Linked DNA regions of Homo sapiens: region 2 is linked to region 1. Evidence: promoter capture Hi-C in human tissues and cell types (Jung and others, 2019). All regions are on one chromosome and are shown on one strand. The core of a region is centred on a gene start or on the middle of the fragment in contact, and the rest is flanking DNA. Distances in the headings are between cores, read along the strand shown. Region 1 holds the start of SMCO3 (single-pass membrane protein with coiled-coil domains 3). Region 2 has its middle 18 kb from the start of MGP.

Evidence for each region. Contacts are between HindIII fragments. The study calls those that stand out against the background at their distance.
Region 2: a contact is called between a fragment that was not itself captured here and the fragment with the promoter of SMCO3 in region 1, in 1 of the 25 tissues and cell types used here (hippocampus).

Annotation. Positions count from the first base shown.
Region 1 is chr12:14,811,975-14,815,788 of GRCh38, reverse strand. It overlaps SMCO3 (single-pass membrane protein with coiled-coil domains 3), which reads left to right and starts at 1,607. Exons shown (of 2, transcript NM_001013698.2): 1 at 1,607-1,663. The region is part of intron 1 of C12orf60 (chromosome 12 open reading frame 60); the gene reads right to left. The HindIII fragment of the contact is 14,769 bases long and covers 1-3,513 here.
Region 2 is chr12:14,866,243-14,870,056 of GRCh38, reverse strand. No RefSeq gene overlaps it. Among named protein-coding and RNA genes, the nearest start is that of MGP, 18 kb to the left of the region's middle. The HindIII fragment of the contact is 5,221 bases long and covers 1-3,814 here.

The sequences.
Region 1 (3,814 bases), core at 358-2,857:
ACAATAGCCTCTTCGGAAACAAAATGCAACTGTTTTAAGACAGGGTAAAAGACAGACATATTTTGTCCACATACTGTAGGCAATGGGGTTGGTAACTTATGCTTTATTGTCCATACCTACTAATCAAGTTTACATAATGTACCCTTCCTGAAATCCAAATCTCCAAATATTACACCATAATTAAAAGGATTTTTTAATGGTTCATTATTATCTACAGAATGAAATACAATTTCCTAGCATGACATCTAAGGCTATCTACAAACTATTTTCAATTTTCCATGACTTACCTTCCCTTAACTGCTCCCACTTACACCCTGTATCACCAGCAGGTTGGTTTTTGTTCCCTGAAAATGTTCTACAATTTTTGGTTCAGCTCCTTTGCTCTCAGTGTTCCCTCTATCTGTATTATTTCCTCTATACCACCATCCTCCCCAAACATCTATTAAAATCCTACTTAACATCCATACCTAGTTCAGATACACTGGCCACACATCCGTACGTGGTGGGGCCCTGGATACATCAAGGGCAAGATGATCCACTGGGACAAAAGTAGAAAAGTGACCCCACTTAGCCCTTCTTTAGAATCACAGGGCAGCATCTTTAGATTTTAAAGTTTCCTGTCTGCCTGTCTGGCATTTTGATTCTGTATCCTGTACCCACCCATTCTCCTCTCCCCTCCACCAGGAGATACTGTTGTTAATATATGAATAGCTACCGTTTCATAAGATTTTGCCACATATCAGCCACTATGCCAATTACTTTATAAACACTATCCCATTTAATCCATAAATTATTAACTAATACTCATATTACACCAATGGGAAAACTCAGGCTAAGTGACTTTCTTAGGATTACATGACTAGTAAGTGGTACTTGGAGTACACAAAACCAGGACTGTCTGAGTGTAAAGCCTGCTGTCTTTCACTAAGTTACACTGGGGCTGAGTGATTTCCCTGCCACTCAGGTGTCTTTGCTGTGGAGGAATTAACGGGTCTGAAGACTGAAGCTGGGAAGAAGCAGCAGGGAAGACTGATCTGAGCTTTCAGGGAAAAGAGTGAAGTTGGACTTTAAGGTTTTTATATTGTCAAGACAATTTACAAACACAGGAAGAGAAAGAATGACAAAGAGGAGAACTCCTAGCTGGAAAGAAGAGAAAAAAAAATTGGATGCAAGTAACTGCATTTATATATCTTGAGAATTTAAATAATCAGCAACAGTTAGAGGTGCAAATGCAACAGAAGCTAAAAGAAACTTAGTATCTGGAATAGTTGACAAGATAAAACCCCAAAATCTGAGAGCTGCAATCAAAGAGCCATCTTCTCTACTAAATTGAATTAGCTCAGTTATATAGCGCTTCTCAACAATAAAAAGTCCATTAAAGAACAGAAATTTAAAAATAAGTTTTACACACTATTAGTCTTCCAGTTTATATAACTTAATACTGTATACTAAGTTTTTATTAATAGGAAATGAAGGAATTCTGAGGGCCAAGCCATGTAGAAATAGCCTATAAACCAGACAGGCAGAGGGACCCAGCAGAGACTAGCAAAGTCTGTAAGTCATCACATTCCATCAGAAATATCCAGATGAAACCAGATGAAAAAGCACTTTAACAATACTCCTAAACAACTGCTAGGACCACGGAACTCAGAAACACAGCAAGGTAAGCAACGTGGATATTTCTATTAGTATTGATATAATACTCTGTTTCTCAGTAGTAGGAGGAATTTGAATTAGCCCGTCAGTCTTGAATCCTAACCATAAATAAAATAAAGTAAAAAAACAGCTTTGTTATAAGAGGATCCCATGACATGTTCCTTGTGATTTGGAAGGAACCTTTCCTGGTGCCTTCTCTGAAGACAGCAGAGAAGGAAGAAAATTAACAATTTCTAGGACTGATTAAGTCAGAGTGGAAGAGAAGCAGTAAAGACATCAATTCTAAGAAGGATTAAGGATGAAATGATACCTGTGTGAATGTGTGAAGTTTACATGGATAGTAACATTTCCTTCTATGTCATTAATATTAATATAGGCACTCAGTACCTATCTATGAAAGAATGAATGTGGAATCTAATACTGGTTAATGTATAGTACTTATACTCCTTCATAAATTATGTTGTATCTAAATATCTCTGAGCATTTGCTGTGTGTCTCCAAACAGGCTGTTATCGTCTTGAGGGCAAGGAACATTGTCGTTTTCAAATGCCTCAAGGGACACAGTAGAGGCTTCACCAGTGAGCACTTGATAAATGCTGATGAATGACTTTAATATTCTTCTTTCTGGTCAGAAACATTTTTTAAATGAATTTATATCAGAAAGTATATCATCACATCATGATCAATTTTTGTTTTAATTAAAGGCCACAGATTTTTATTTGAATTAAAGGAGACTCAGAACTAGTTAGAAGCTGTTATTTTCTTCTGAAAAGCTCCTGATTTTACCTATACCCTATTTCCACACTCCCAGATAAGGAAACTGTGCATGATGGCAAAACCCTGTTTGGACAGTGAAGAAAAGTGACAGCAAGAAGAAATGTAAAACCTCAGAGAGCACTAACGACTAAACATCAGAGGTTTAGACAGGGTCACGTTTTTCTTTTTCTTTCTTTTTTATTTGTTATAAGAAAAGTTCAAACATACACAGAAGTAGAGACAATAATATAATAAACTCCCATGTACCCATAACTCAGCTTTAAAAATTATCAAAACAAGGCCAATCTTTTTTCCTCTATAACCCTACCCCACTATTCTTTCCAGATTATTTGTGAACAAATCTCTGAGACCATTTCATTTCATCTTAAATGTTTTCAGTATGTATTTCCAAATAGGCAAGAACTTCTCTTTTTGAAATTTAACCTTACTCTTCCCAAATCAACAATATTTAAACAGGACCATCTTTGACTGGGAAATATACCAGCACTATGCTCAGTATCTGGGTGACAGGATCATTCACAGTAAACCTCAGCAACACACAGTATAGTCAGGGAACAAACCTGTGTATGTACCTCCTGAATCTAAAATAAAAATTGTAAAAATTTTATAGCAGGATACCCAGTATCCTGCTATAAAAATTTATTTGGGGTAGCACAGTAAAAGCTTTTGGAATGCAATTTACGATACATATCAAAAGTAATAAAAATTTAATTCCCATTACTTATGCCACTAATTATGTAATTCTTCTAGGTACTTATGCTGAGGAAATAATCCAGATAATGGAGGAAAAAAAATCTGTGGGTATCAAAATGCTCATTAGAATATTAGTGATAGTGAAACAATTTTAGATTTATTGAACCAGGGTAAAGACAGGGAATAGTATACGTAACCAATAAAATTTTTTTTTTTTTTGAGACGGAGTCTCCCTCTGTCACCCAGGCCGGCGTGCAGTGGCACAATCTCGGCTCACTGCAAGCTCTGCCTCCCAGGCTCATGCCATTCTCCTGCCTCAGCCTCCCAAGTAGCTGGGACTACAGGCGCCCGCCACCGCGCCCGGCTAATTTTTTGTATTTTTAGTAGAGACGGGGTTTCACCGTGTTAGCCAGGATGGTTTCGATCTCCTGACCTCGTGATCCGCCCGCCTCGGCCTCCCAAAGTGCTCGGATTACAGGCGTGAGCCACCACGCCCGGCCAAATATTTTTAAAGCTATAAATAGGGGAAAGTGTTAAGTGAATAAAAGATGAATTTTATTTATACTATTATGATAACTTTGTGAAGATACTTATGCATATAAACAAATTTTGAAAAAGAATAACAAAAATCAAAAGTGAAATGGTAGGTTTATGGGTGTTTTTCCTCCTCTATTTAAAAAAGTGTATA
Region 2 (3,814 bases), core at 332-2,831, 54 kb before region 1:
ATGGAGAACATAGAAAAGCAGGGTGGGGCGATAGCCCACCTGAGAGCAACACAGAGCCAAGGGAACCCCCATCCCCAGCCACAGGAAGCAGTGAGTGACTGTGTGACCCCAAGAAACCAGACTTCTCCCACAGATCTTTGCAACTGTCAAATCAAGAGATTCCCTTGTGAGCCCACACCACAGGGCCTTGGGTCCGACACACAGAGCTGTGTAGAGTCTCAGCACAGCAGCTGCTCAGGCACACACAGAGACCCAGGAGCTTTACCTACTCTGGCTTTGGGATCCTCAGCAAGGCAGGAGACCTGTATATACCCCTAGGAAGGGAGCTGAATCCAGGGGGCCAGTGTCAGTCTGTGGGCCTCACTTCCACGGTACCTCACAAGATAAGATCTACTGGCTTGGATTCCAGCCAGCTACTAGCAACAGGGTGGAGCCTGCCTGAGATGGGTCAGAGACCCGGAGGACAGAGGCAGGCCACCATCTCTGCTGTTTGGTCAACTCAGCCATTCCAGCCTGTGAGCTTTGGAAAATCCAAATGGTCTGGACAAGGAAAGATTCCCCCCAACACAGCAGAGCTGCTTTGCCAGAATGTGCCCAGATTGCCTCTTTAAGCAGTATCCCAAAACATTCCTCCTCACTGGGCAGGACCTCCCATCTGGAACCTTCGGCCACTCCTGCCCATTTTCTATGGACAGAGTTCTGATCTCTCCCTGAGGGAGAGGTGTGGGCCACCGCCTTGGTTGTTTGGACAACTAAGCCACTCCAGCCTGCAGGGTGTGGAGAGTGCAAGTTGACCAGCACAGAGGCAGCTCCCCAGCATGGCAGAGCTCTTTTGTCAAGGTGTAGTCAGACTGTTTCTTCAAACAGGAACCCAATCCACTCCTCCTTGCAGGGCAGGTCCTCCCAGTCAGGGCCTCTGGCTACCCTGCTCTAAGGACAGAGGTCTGATTTCTCCCTGGGATGGGTGCCCAGGGGGAGGAGCAGGTCACCATCTTTGCTGTTTGGGTGACTCAGCCATTCCAGCCTGTGGGCTTTGGTGAGTCCAAGCTGACATGGCCGGGGATGGGTCCCCAGGACTCCATGACTGTCTTGTTAAGGTGTGGCCAGACTGCTTCTATAAAAGGGGGCAGGATCCATTCCTCCTTGCTGGGCAGGTCCTCCCAGCTGGGGCCCCAGGCCACCCCTGCCCATGTTCTATGACCAACAGAGTTCTAATTTCTCCCTGGAATGGGGGAGCCCACGAGATGGGGCAGGCCACCACCTTTGCTGTTTGGGCATCTCAGCTAGTCCACCCTGCAGACCTTGGATTGGGGGCTGAAGGGATCCTCAACATAGCACAGCTGCTCTACCAAAAAGCAGCCAGACTGATACTTTAAGCAGGTCCCTGATCTCGTTCCTAGTGACCCCAACCAGGGTCTCCAGCCACCTTGTACAGGCATGTTTAGGCCAGCAACAGGTCAGTAGCCCTCAGGGCAGAGCTCCCAGAGAGAGGGGCAGGCTGCCATCTTTGCTGTTTTGCAGCATTCACTGATGATACCTTCAGGTACTAGAAAAACCGAGGTGACTAGGGTCTGGATTGGACCCCCAGCCAAACACAGCAGCCCTACAGAAGAATGGCCAGGCTGTTAAAAGAAAAACAAACAAAGAAAAAACAACAATAACAACAACAAAAGAAAACACAAAAGAACCCATCCAAAGGTGAGCAACCTTAAAGATCAAAAGTAGATAAGCCCACAAAGATGAGAAAGTATCAATGCAAAAACAATGAAAACTCAAAAAACCAGAGTGCCCCCTTTCCTCCAAATGACCACAACACCTCTCCAGCAAGGGTTCAGAACTGGGCTGAGGCTGAGATGGCTGAAATGACAAAAGTAGTCTTCAGAATGTGGATGAAAACAAGCAAACAAACTTCGCTGAACTAAAGGAGCATGTTGTAACCCAATGCAAAGAAGCTAAGAAACATGATAAAACAATGCAGGAGTAGACAGCCAAAATAACCAGTATAGAGAGAAACATAATCGACCTTATAAAGCCAAAAAACACACTACAAGAACTTCACAATGCAATTCAAAGTATTAATAGCAGAATAGACCAAGCAGAGGAAAGAATCTCAGAGCTTGAAGACTGTCTTTCTGAAATTACAGACAGACAAGAATAGTGAAAAAGGAATGAACGAAACCTCCAATATGGGATTACGTAAAGAGACTAAATCTATGACAGATTTGGGTACCAAAAAGAGATGCAGAGGCTGGAATCAATTTGGAAAACATACTTCAGGGTATCATCCCAGAGAACTTCTGCAATCTAGCTACACAGGCCAACATTCAAATTCAGGAAATGCAGATAACCCTGGTAAGATACTTTACAAGATAATCCCCAAGACACATAATCATCAGATTCTCCAAGGTCAAAATGAAAGAAAAAAATGTTAAGGGCAGCCAGACAGAAAGGCTTGGTCACCTAACGAAAGGAAGCCCATCAGACTAACAGCAGACCTCTCAGTAGAAACCCTACAAGCCAGAAGAGATTAGGGGCCAATATTCCACATTCTTAAAGAAAAGAATTTCCAGATTCTGTTCCAAGATGGCCAAGTAGGAACAGCTCCAGTCTGCAACTCCCAGCGTGATTGATGCAGAAGATGGGTGATTTCTGCATTTCCAACTGAGGTACCTGGTTCATCTCATTGGGACTGGTTGGACAGTGGGTGCAGCCCATGGAGGGTGAGATGAAGCAGGGCCGGTTATCGCCTCACCCAGGAAGTGCAAGGGGTCAGGGGATTTCCCTTTCCTAGCCAAGGGAAGCCACAACAAATAGTATCTGGAAAAACGGGATACTCCTGCCCAAATACTGCGCTTTTCCAATGGTCTTAGCAAATGGCACACCAGGAGATTATATCCCATGCCTGGCTCAGAGGCTCCCACGCCCATGGAGCCTTGCTCACTGCTAGTGCAGCAATCTGAGATCGACCTGCAAGGCAGCAGCCTGGCAGGGGGAGGGGCATCCGCCATTGCTGAGGCTTGAGTAGGTAAACAAGGCGGCCAGGGGAAGCTGGAACTGGGTGGAGCCCTCTGCAGCTCAGCAAGGTAGACGCCACCTCTGGGGGCAGGGCATAGCTGAATAAAAGACAGCAGAAACTTCTGCAGACTTAAACATCCCTGTCTGACAGCTCTGAAGAGAGCAGTGGTTCTCTCAGCACAGTGTTTGAGCTTGGAGAATGGACAGACTGCCTCCTCAAGTGGGTCCCTGACCCTCGTGTAGCCTATCTGGGAGACACCTCCCAGTAGGGGCCGACTGACACCTAATACAGGCAGGTGCCCCTCTGGGACAAAGCTTCCAGAGGAAGGATCAGGCAGCAATATTTGCTGTTCTGCAATATTTGCTGTTCTGCAGCCTCCACTGGTGATACCCAGGCAAACACGGTCTGGAGTGGAACCCCAGCACACTCCGACAGACCTGCAGCTGAGGGGCCTAACTGTTAGAAGAAAAACTAACAAACAGAAAGGACTAGCATCAACATCAACAAAAAGGACATCCACACCAAAACCCCATCTGTAGGTCACCACCATCAAAGACCAAAGGTAGATAAAACCACAAAGATGGGGAGAAACCAGAGCAGAAAAGCTGAAAATTCTAAAAACTGGAGTGCCTCTTCTCCTCCAAAGGATCACAGCTCCTCACCAGCAATGGAACAAAGCAGGACGGAGAATGAATTTGACGAGCTGACAGAAGTAAGCTTCAGAAGGTTGGTAATAACAAACTTCTCCAAGCTAAAGGAGGATGTTTGAACCCATCACATGGAAGCTAAAAACCTTGA